Linked DNA regions of Homo sapiens: regions 1 and 3 are each linked to region 2. The links are contacts of gene promoters, found by promoter capture Hi-C in blood cells and fetal thymus (Javierre and others, 2016). All regions are on one chromosome and are shown on one strand. The core of a region is centred on a gene start or on the middle of the fragment in contact, and the rest is flanking DNA. Distances in the headings are between cores, read along the strand shown.

Evidence for each region. Contacts are between HindIII fragments. The CHiCAGO score rates a contact against its expected background, and 5 or more counts as called.
Region 1: a contact is called between the fragment with the promoter of DSG4 here and the fragment with the promoter of DSC1 in region 2, in 8 of 17 cell types (erythroblasts, M1 macrophages, neutrophils and 5 more). The highest score is 8.0, in erythroblasts.
Region 3: the fragment with the promoter of DSG1 here is called in contact with the fragment with the promoter of DSC1 in region 2 in 2 of 17 cell types (neutrophils and monocytes); the score reaches 6.7 in neutrophils.

What each region holds. Positions count from the first base shown.
Region 1 is chr18:31,374,801-31,378,496 of GRCh38, forward strand. DSG4 (desmoglein 4) reads left to right here and starts at 1,977. Exons shown (of 16, transcript NM_177986.5): 1 at 1,977-2,159. The coding sequence starts at 2,112. The region is part of intron 1 of DSG1-AS1 (DSG1 antisense RNA 1); the gene reads right to left. The HindIII fragment of the contact is 4,758 bases long and covers 1-3,078 here.
Region 2 is chr18:31,161,166-31,164,772 of GRCh38, forward strand. DSC1 (desmocollin 1) reads right to left here and starts at 1,691. Exons shown (of 16, transcript NM_024421.2): 1 at 1,367-1,691. The coding sequence starts at 1,429. It overlaps DSCAS (DSC1/DSC2 antisense RNA), which reads left to right. Exons shown (of 4, transcript NR_110785.1): 4 at 1,370-1,624. The HindIII fragment of the contact is 8,252 bases long and covers 1-3,607 here.
Region 3 is chr18:31,316,146-31,319,485 of GRCh38, forward strand. DSG1 (desmoglein 1) reads left to right here and starts at 2,015. Exons shown (of 15, transcript NM_001942.4): 1 at 2,015-2,203. The coding sequence starts at 2,156. The HindIII fragment of the contact is 11,545 bases long and covers 1-3,340 here.

The DNA of each region.
Region 1 (3,696 bases), core at 727-3,226, 210 kb after region 2:
ACTGTAAAATCATCCATCCCCTGTGGGAAACAGTAGCTCACACCTGTAATCTCAGTACTTTAGGAGACCAAGGCAGGAGGATCACTTAAGCCCACGAGTTTGAGACCAGCCTGGACAATATAGCAGGACCTTGTCTCTACAAAATATTTTTAAAATTAACCAAGTGTGGTGACATGCACCTGTAAACCCAAGTACTTGAGAGGCTGAGGTGGGAGGATCACTTGAACTCAGGAGGCAGAGGTTGCCGTGAGCTGCACTCAGACCACTACTGCACTCCAGCCTGAGAAGCAGAGCAAGACTCTGTCTCCAAAAAAAACTTTAAAGCAAAAGATCATTCCCACAAATCTCCAAGGAGTAAACAGAAATGAAATGATGGGGCTTCAGGTAGTTCCTCCTTAGTTACTGAAGAATCTTTTAAATATGTTCATAATTATAATCTGGATTCAAATTCTGGATACCATTGAAATCAGGAGTTTCAAATGGAGAAAGCTAGAGGTACCCACATAAATGATCTAGTACCTATTTCTATTGCTTCCTGTTTCTTTTCTTTAAAACTCATCCTATAAATAGCATTCAAGTAGATAGAAAATCTTATATTTAGAAGAAAATATAAGAAAAATCTTATATGTAGAAGAAATCATCTATAGTGTAAACAAAAGATAGAGACCTTTGTGAAATATCTCCTTCAAACACAACAATAGAGAAGAATGTTGTTTTTCCCTTGTAAAAAGCAATGTCACTTAAAGACCTGGAGTTGTTTCATTAATTCTCTTAGGCAAATTAAATTATCTAATTCAACATGACATGAAATAATGCAAAAGTAAATTACTTTATCTGGCTTCCAAAAATACTAAAACTACTTTTCTCAAGAAACTAAGCAATACTTAGAATACATTCTATTACCAGGGTCAACCTTGTTTCTGAATTACAGTGATGGGATAGTGAAGACAGGAGGCAGTCTCCCTTTGAAATTCTCCAACCAACATGTATTATCTATCAATCAGAGAACAGTTAACTGCATTTTCTTTTAAGTTTATTGATGTTGCTGCCAGCCTGCAATGTTTGCATCAGGACACTCTATACCCTGTTTCAAACCCATACTAACAAAGGAAAAGGGAGACACGAAAAAGGGAAATAATATTCAAAAATATCCAGATCCCACTCTGGGCTTTTTTTCATTAAATTCTCACGTTTCCAACTTCAGTTTCTCCTTAATAAATATTTGTGGTGGTGTAAAATGTGTTCCTCACCCACATTATGTACTTTTTATCAGTGGTAATACTATGAGAAGTGAGAATGTTGTATTGTAGTTACTTTAAAATGATTTTGTAAATATCATATTGTAGAGGTTTGACTGAATAATCAAGAAAGAAAATGCCAAAGTATGGAAACAAACATACTGGTACTAGTTAAATCAGAGTTCCTTCATCTTAACTTTGTTATTTCAGAAAATCTTTAAAATTGAGAGTGCGGTTCAACCACAAGACATTTTAAAGAGAGAAGCAGGACTCAACTGAATTGAAATGAGCGTCATTATTCTATCTTTCTTCCTATACCATACTTGAGTCCTGATGACTTTCAACAATGGCCTCTGCTAAAAGTATCATTCCTTGAAGTGGGTTCTGCAGTGGACATGTGTGTGTATGTGTTGTCAGTATATGTAATTTTGCTTTTACAATGTTGGCAGTAAGAAGAAGCCTTCTAATTTTATTCAGCATGATGATAGGCCCTAGCATTTTAATTATTTTTTATGTTGTGAGTAATTTATTATTCACTGGCTATCTTCCCTGTAAATCTTGTCCTCGCTCTGTAAGGTTTTTCTTTGGTGTCCAACAAAGGGTTTCATTGCAATAAGAATCAAGGTGTGTCTAAATTCTTACCCAGAGCCCAAACAATGCCAGTCTTCCAGACCAGCCTGGGAGTTTGGGGTGGGGAAACAGTCATTATAGAATATCTTCATCTCTCTGCCCAGAGATCACCACAGTTATCACCCATGCCCTCCTAAAAGGGTGTCTCAAAGCATATCTTTCTGTAGAGCAGAATTCGGAACTGAGAAGACGAGGGCTCAAATTGAATCTCACAGGATTTGCGTGCAAGAGAAACCCAAAGGAATGGATTGGCTCTTCTTCAGAAACATTTGCCTTTTGATCATTCTAATGGTAAGTAGAATTTAAAGAGGTGGGAAGGAAATGCAGCCTCAAGGTCTTGTCTCTGTCAACTGTCGGGCTTTCTACATGGGATTTATTCCATTTTTAATCTCCTTCCTGCAAAGAGAGTTCTAGAAGTCCAGCCTCTGTTAATTTCAAACAACTCTCTCCGCCTTGAGGAACAAAATGCCATAGAGAAGCGGGGTGAGAATCTGGCTGAATTAAATTTATATGCCCTCAGAGACATAATCTACTTCACTTTGAGTGTTAGGACTATTCTAAAATTTTAAATTGGAAATAAAATTCATATTCTATGATCATATAAATAAATCAGATAGATTGCTGTGAAAACTGCCAGTGCAAATGGGTTCTAAATTTGAAGGGAAGTTAATCAAACCCATTTCTTTTCAATAGTTATTTCCCTATGAGTTTCTTTCAAAGTGGAGGAATGATAGCCATGTTGAAATTACATTGCAACTAATGATGACATACTAAAGTCATGAGAACTTTTTCCAGTCAGATATTGCTAAAGAAAAATGAAGCCCAGCCATCAAGACAAAACTTTTCTGGAATTATGAATGCATTCCTACAGACCAGCAAAGAAATATTTAAATGACTTATTTCTTTACAGTAAACATGGCATCTTGGATATTATATTTCTTTCCTCTAACCTTTGGGTGCCCAAGGTGTGACATGATTTCCAGACAGGCAGCATGCATAGCAAATATCCTACCCTAGAAAGAGATAATTCCAACTCCAAAGAAGAACAAAGTTCCAGTTGGCCAATCAACAAACTATTGCCAATTCTGGGAGGGTAAGAGGACAGGATTATTAGGAACTGTACAAATTTTTCAAAGTAAATTAAGACAAATGCATTATAGTTGGCCACACTTCAATCTCCCAGGAGTATCCAGGTTAGCGCTACAACCTAAGCTTAGAAAGTGATTCCCATCCTATTCTTAGGCAAGTGGCAATTATACCAGACTCCTCTGAACATCAGTTGTAAGAGACAGAGAGTAGCTAGGGCTGGGAGAGATGGGAGCACGTCATTGTCCAAGAGGCACAGTGAGAGCTACTCTTCTGGAATTCACATTTCTAAACTTCAAGAGCAGTGCGGGAGCCGAACACTGCCAAAGGGCACACAACCCCAAGCTCAAAAGGGAACGTGACAACAGTGGTAGAATATTGCATCCTCTGAGTTTAGGAGACAGATTATTAAACAATACCATTTTTGAAAAATATTTTTAAACTTAAAAACATAAGACGAAGGGCAATATTCTGTTACAATGATCATTATTTATTTACTAAATAAAATAAATGTTACTAAAAGAAGAGGCAAGAATCGGACTTGGTCTTCAATTGAAATAGTAAGTTATGAGGATATACCTCTTGTTACTCTTCTACCGAGTATATTCATGCTTTGACTCAGATAAACTTTTGGTTTTCTGTAAGGAAAATTGTATGTGTCAAGATTTTAGAGGCCACTTCTGAGCACTAAATCTTGCCTCCCATTGCCTTCTGCACAGGCATGATTTATGATAATATTATT
Region 2 (3,607 bases), core at 441-2,940:
TGTAAGTATTTGTGTAACTAAACATTTTTAGATATAGAAAAAGTACATTAAAATACAATATAAAAGATAAAAAATGGTTCACCTATACAGACGAGCTCCATTATAATCTATGGGACCACTCATATATGTAGTCCATCATTGACTGAGGCATTGTTTTGCAGAGCATGACTGTATATGTGCGTGTGTGTATATATATATAAATGTACATATATATATATAAATATATGAGACATTCTTATAGTTATATCCACACTTCCACTCCCACCCCCATCTTCTTTCCTTCTTGTCCTAGGATTCCATGTTGATGGTCCTCCCTCTGCAGGCAGAGCCACTGAAGGTTTCCATTCATTAAATACTATTCCCGTCTTCAGGTTAAATCACTGACTAAGTGGCTTAGTGACACCCTTTTAGTCAGTTTCAGAGTCAGAAATAAATAAACAGGAGATGAATTGTCCAAGAGATATTAGACAGTACAGGGATCAGAAGCAAAAGAAATGTGGGTAGAATCCTTTGAAACATTTTTACCACATTTTACCAAACTTGTACTAACTTAAGATGGTATCTGAGTTATCGTCTCCCTAAGCAGTTACAGGATGAGAAGGTGACCATCAACCCTGCATTGTATATTATTTACATGGAGAAAATGTTTGTCCTCATACCTGCCATTTCTAAAAATATATTTTGAAACTCAAGTATTTTGCTAAAATGAAAAAATAGGAAACTCACACCTCAGAAATGATGGACGGATGTGTGAAATAACCCCCCTCTCTTCCCTCACCTCCAAAGAAAAAATAGCACCTTACACAGTTACAAAGCTATTAAAAACCCAAGTGGAAGCCAAGTTGAGGATATTTTCAATGACAGTCACATTTTTGTTATTTTTCTTAAACTATTCTTTGCTTAAACTGCTTCGTGGGTAAAATTCAAAAAGTCCTGGATAATTTGCATGTTCACCCAGAATCCTTTCTCTTTTTTTGCAGCTTAGTAGAACTCAGCATGTTAAATAACATGAGTTTATGTAATCACTGGTAGCAGAAGTAAACCTCAGAAACTTCTGGGCCAAATGCCTAAAGAATGAATTCACTTCTCTACTCTTAGAAAATCACCACAGCAGGATGGAAGAGGGATTCCCTTGAAAACTTTTAACACTCTGGCAGTGGGTGCTTGAGAAGTAAGCTGAACACTTTCCATCCTGAATCCCAAGCCTCTCAACTCTTCCCTGAATCTTCCTCAGATCTGCTTTTGTTTTCCCCAATCTCTCTTCTCTGCCTCCCATCCTCACTCCTAGTCTCTTTCAAGCCCAAACTGCAGAGAGGAAGCAGGTAGTAACATGCTTGAATTCCCTAATCCTTTGGTTGTTACTCACCAGGAGAGAGAAAAGGAGCTGCTTACAGAAGATGCTCCCTGGGGCAGCAGAGGCCAGAGCCATCAGAAGCAGTCCCAATGGCCAGGGACGGTGGCCAGATAACAGGGCAGCCTGGGATGCACAGAGCGGCTAAGAAGACGCTGGCACTTGCACAGGGTATTCTGCTGCCACCTTGATGCAGCTGAGCTTGGTTTGGAAGACAGTCCGGAGGCAAGTGATAAACAGTAGGAGGAGCAACGGGAGAATTTCTTTCCCCCTATTCCCTGGCCAGTCTCCTTCCTTCCAGTTCAATTACGTCTAAATGCAAAGAGGCTTTCCTACAAGTGAGGAGGGTGGGGTACAAAACACCCCAAAACCCAGTCAGTAGCTCCTCCTCACAGCAGCTTTCAAAATTTCTCTTGCCACTTAACACATAGGCAGAAGGAGGAGGGAACACCCTTCATCCTCAGCCCTCCTCCCTTTCCCCCAGGTTGATGCTGTGAAGTCCTCCCCAGTTATTACCCACTCCCACAGCCTCCCCTCCTTCTTGGCCTTATTAACCTGTCTTGCCCTCGGGTACAAACATAAATTGTGCACAAACGCCATGCAAGGAAGTGATGCCTCCTCAACTGCCATTGGCAAATCAGAGGACCTAAGCGTGTGTAATCACACTCATCAGAAGTTATCTCCCATCTAAGCATTTAAGTGTCATCGGTCCTGTAGAACACTGTAGTTCTGCTAGAGAACTGGCATTCCAGTTTAAAGCAGCAACTTCATAAAGGCATGGTATCTACTTCCTGTTATTGACTATTCACTGTGGTTGGTTCTCTAGATGTCACAGGAAACTTATCAGAATGTAAAGACTTCATAAAAGAAAGAGAATAAAGAAATAGCTAGCATATAATCTTTCTTGTGGCTTTCCTTTTGTTGTACAAGATGCCACTGCTTTTTACCTTTATATTTTTTCAAGGACAACTACAATCTTTGAGAGCAAGTCTCTCTAAAATCACTCTATTCACCCTAATTACTTGTACATTACACATAGGATATCCTAGCTTAATAGTACAATCAGGCCATCAAGTGTAGATTTTTTTAAACCCTAATGATTCCTCTAACAAGAGCTTTAGCATCATTATTCCTGTCCCAAATTAGTGAGCTCAGTGATACCAATTGCACTCAATGGCAGTGATGGAAGTTAGGACAGAAGGATAAATATTTTCAAATGTTAAGGTAGAGCCCAACACCCATGCTGCTGAGAAGGGAGGAAAGAAAGGTTTTCTTCAGCTTATTTGACAATGGGAACAATTTCTCCTTGTATGTAGAGACAGAAATAAATGTAACTGCTTCATTAGAATTAGAAGCTAGGAAGATTTGGAAAATGAATGACCCAGGAGAAAAAAAACTAAAAGATATCTTGTAGTATTTTATTGCTAGTGGTATACCCACTAATAAACATATTTTGTGACTGCATTGGAATTTGATTTCTCAATCAGAAAATACAGTCATTTTAATGGAATATTTTTATATCTGGCGTTTTGGGAGAAAAGAATGGGAATATAGAAATAGAAAAATTACTTAGATGTATATGTGTACAGCCAAGTGTAATTCTGTGCATGTTTAAGCATCATCTAAGTATATATTTAGATAGATAGATAGACAGATAAATAGATAGTCATACAGCTTAAATAATTCAAAGACAAATTCTCCAACCCTAGAAAATAGAAACACATTTTTTTCAGCTAATGAAGTTATCATTACCTTTTTCTATAACATGATATTCTCCACTGAACTAGGAAGATATAGAAGAGCAAAATTAAATTGGTGTTACTGAAAAAATGGCATATATTGGTTGGATGAAGAGATTCCAGGCACTGCTCAATTCAAATGAATCCAGAATACTCTCCACAGTTCTGGGAAGTTGATGTTCTGATCCTACTTCTTTTGGCCTACTTTCTGCGTGCTCTCTTTTCCCATTATCTATCTTTCTCAAAGGTAATAGAAAAACTTGTGTAAAAGCTAACCCCAAATTATTGGTTTGCAAATCTGTTACATTACTATTTCTCCCATATTTTGTATTTGCACACAAAGGTTTCCTAAAAATAAAATATAGGCACTTTATAGGAAAAAATAATTTATTATTACAAATTATTGACTCTTCCTTAAACGTGAATCTACCTTAAAATTAAATGAAAACAAGACATATTTCTTCCAATTTTCTGGCATTAGATCATTCAGTAAGAGCTCTGTCTTAGTCTGTTTTCT
Region 3 (3,340 bases), core at 765-3,264, 160 kb after region 2:
GTTAAATATTCTCTTCCTTAGTCATAATAACCATATTTTAAATCCTCAATAGTCACATATTATAAATGGCTACCATATCTGACAGCATAGATAGAGAATATGTTCGTATTGCAGAAAGTTCTACTGGATAGCACTGTTCTGAGGACGTTAAAATGAGTAAGAAAGAGAAAAAGGCAGGGAAGGAGGCAAGGGAGAGAAAGTGATTAACAAATTCCCTCTCCCGCTGTGTTTAACATCGTATTGGCTCTCATGTAACTGCCAAGACAGACGCTGCTCTGCAGTATTGGAGTTCTATCACACCTCCTCTCCAGAAAGATGTTTGAGAGATTGCTGCCTTATGAATCCCCTAGTCATATAGGATTGTTGGAGCAAGGCATTGAGTTAGGGGTGGAGCCAGGGTTAGGTTTAAGGAAAGGTAATTTAATGGATGAAGGAGGCCCCCATGCATGCCCTAGCATCATGCCCAGAATCCGAGATGCATAAAACATTGACTCGCCACTGGAAAGCTGCAAGAGTAGGTGCAGTTGTCTCTGGTGCCCAGTGAGTCTTCTGCTATTCATGGTCAGACAACATGATACTAATATATTGCTCAGACTAAGTCATAGGTTAATACAGTCTATTTTATTTGACATTTCTCATTAGAGAAAATCGGCCAGCTCATCTTTCTAAATTTTATTTATTTACATCTGCTATTTACAATCATAAACATTCTTATTCACTGCAAATAAACATGGGCAGCCTATCTCCTCCCCTCCACACTGTATGATGGATAATATGGAAATTCAAACCACACATCTTCTTTGCCACAAATCTGTAGTGAAATGACAGCCTTCTATAGACCCTCTGACCCTCAGAGATTTTCTTCCTTTTGGAGACATTTTGAGTATCTTTTTGACCATAATCAACATCTTATCAGGTAGGTCTCTTGTTCTAAGTAGCCGTTTCAAACTCTGAGGGTGTCCAGTGTCTATGAGCTTCCTGCCACTCACAATATTTATACTAGACGTTGCCAGGGGAAGAGAAGAGAGTCCAAAAATATGTCCAAATGCTGCCCTGTGAAGGTTGCTATTTATTTTCACAAACCTCAGGGCTGCATTCAGTTTCCCGTCTACCTGTGTAGGCAGCCATTTCTTCAGTGTATTCCCTATGTTCTAATTGGCTCGCTGTACAGATTCTTGGCTCTGTGCTTAGGAATTGTCATTGACTTTTAACCCACCTCACCTGCTGAGCAGCTTTCTGTGTTTTCATTAGTATTTCAGGCACCGAATCTCATTTTTAAAGTTATTATCAGGATTTTAATTGGTGGTTCTCACTATTCACCCTTAAGTTTAGTAATATTTAAATTTTTATTTTGTTGCATTTAATAAAAGAATCATAAAGAAAGAAAAATAATTAGGGAGAGAAAATAATTTCTTTAGAGGGAAAATGGAGGATTCCTTAGACTGAAGGCTGGTCAGTTAATGGGAATTGTGACTTATGCAGAGGATCTAATAATTGTAAGTATCATGGTTTTACTTGTTTGAATTAATAACTTTAAAAAATCTCAGTCTTGCATTAGCATATTTTCTGTCTCTTAACAACCGAAAATAACTGAAACTTTCCCAACATCTACTAAAATGGAAAGTTTGTCATTTTCTACTATGACCTGAGGGTTTGGCTACAAACAGATAATGGAATGAATAAGATGAGCATTCAAGTTATACCTGCCTGTTTAATATGGGGAGAAACTAAACCACCTGTAAAGAAAGCATGGGGTGAGAAGCCCCCATCACCTGTATAACCCTCGGTATTTCTGTTCACTTTAAGAGCCTGCCACTGAAAACATTCAGTAAAGGAGTGAATCTTCCTTGCCCCATCAAGAGTCGCTTTTCAGCTGGAGGAAGGGTGTGTCCCCAAGTTTTTACCTGGGAGCAATGATGATCTTGTCAAGCATTTCAGTGAGACCAGCCCAAGTTTTTAGGGTGGGGATCCAGACTGGTTATACGTACCTTCAGTCCTTCTCCCAGAGGAAGGCAGAAACACCTCAAAGCCTGCATGTAAGAACATCTACTGAGAAATTATTTTAATCAGACACCAGCTGAGTGGGAGAAAGAAAAAGAACAGAGAAGAACAAACAAAACTCCCTTGGTCTTGGATGTAAGAGAATCCAGCAGAGATGGACTGGAGTTTCTTCAGAGTAGTTGCAATGCTGTTCATTTTTCTGGTGAGTGGATTCTGGTAAAAGTCCTTCATAATCGTGCCCATTGTAAACAAGTGAAAACTTTTTAGAAAATGTTAGTGGGCATTATTTCTAACCTAAACCCATTGAAAATGTATATTAATGACAAGATGATTTTATGAACTAGATTTTTCAATAGCATTTCTCTCTTTAATTGAAGACTCAAGATCATGTTAATGCCTCAGTGTCAACTCATTGTATTACATCTCTGACACTGAAGTCATTGCTAAGTCATGCTGGGAAAAGACTGAATTTAGGAAATTCCTATCGCTAGTTAGTAGCACTTTGTCGTTCAAAATCTCTTCTGCAAGAGGGCTTTTAAACTAAATATCACAAGTGTGTCTGGATTTTTAACCTGTTTTTTTTTTTATTTTTTTTGTGTGTTTGGTGGTGGAATTACTCTAATTTTTAAAACATAAAAATAGCACCACATAATTTAAAATCGTAGCAGTTTGTGGCTGGTCTCGCTATCCAAATAAAGTCATCAGTTGCATATTTGGTTAGAATCTGTATCACTACTATAAAAAGCCCCGCACTATTTAACTATGATTTTATTTAAAACATTTTTAATTTCAAAAAACGGCAGTACAGGAGGTTTATAAATGACATATTAAGTGAAGAAGTGGCTATAATTAAAGAGTAAGTATAATTATTATTACACTCGATCTTACTACTGGAATGTCAGTGATGACTGCGATATAAAAGTTGTGCACTTGATCGTCTGACGAATGTAATGAAATACTTTATCATTGCCCCCTTACATGTAATTAGTTTTCTTGCTGTAGAGATAATACTAAGTGCACCACTAATGTATTATGTCAATTTCACTTTCAGTGAAAATTTGAAAATTGTAATCTCTCTCATAGTAAGGTTAATGTAATTCAAAAAGGCAGGTGCCAAGTAAATTGCCCTCCAGCTTGGCAGGATGTATAGTGCTGTGGTTCACATTTGTTTCTACTTGCTTAATTTTTGAACTGGAATGTTGGGTTGGTTGGTATAATAAGTTAGATCTTTGATTCAAAGTATGCTGGTTAGTTTGAATTCAGTTTTATTAACTAAGGCGGGACATAATCAGTGGATTTAGTTATAAATGAGCATCAGTAAGCTGGTGGCTTTGGTTCC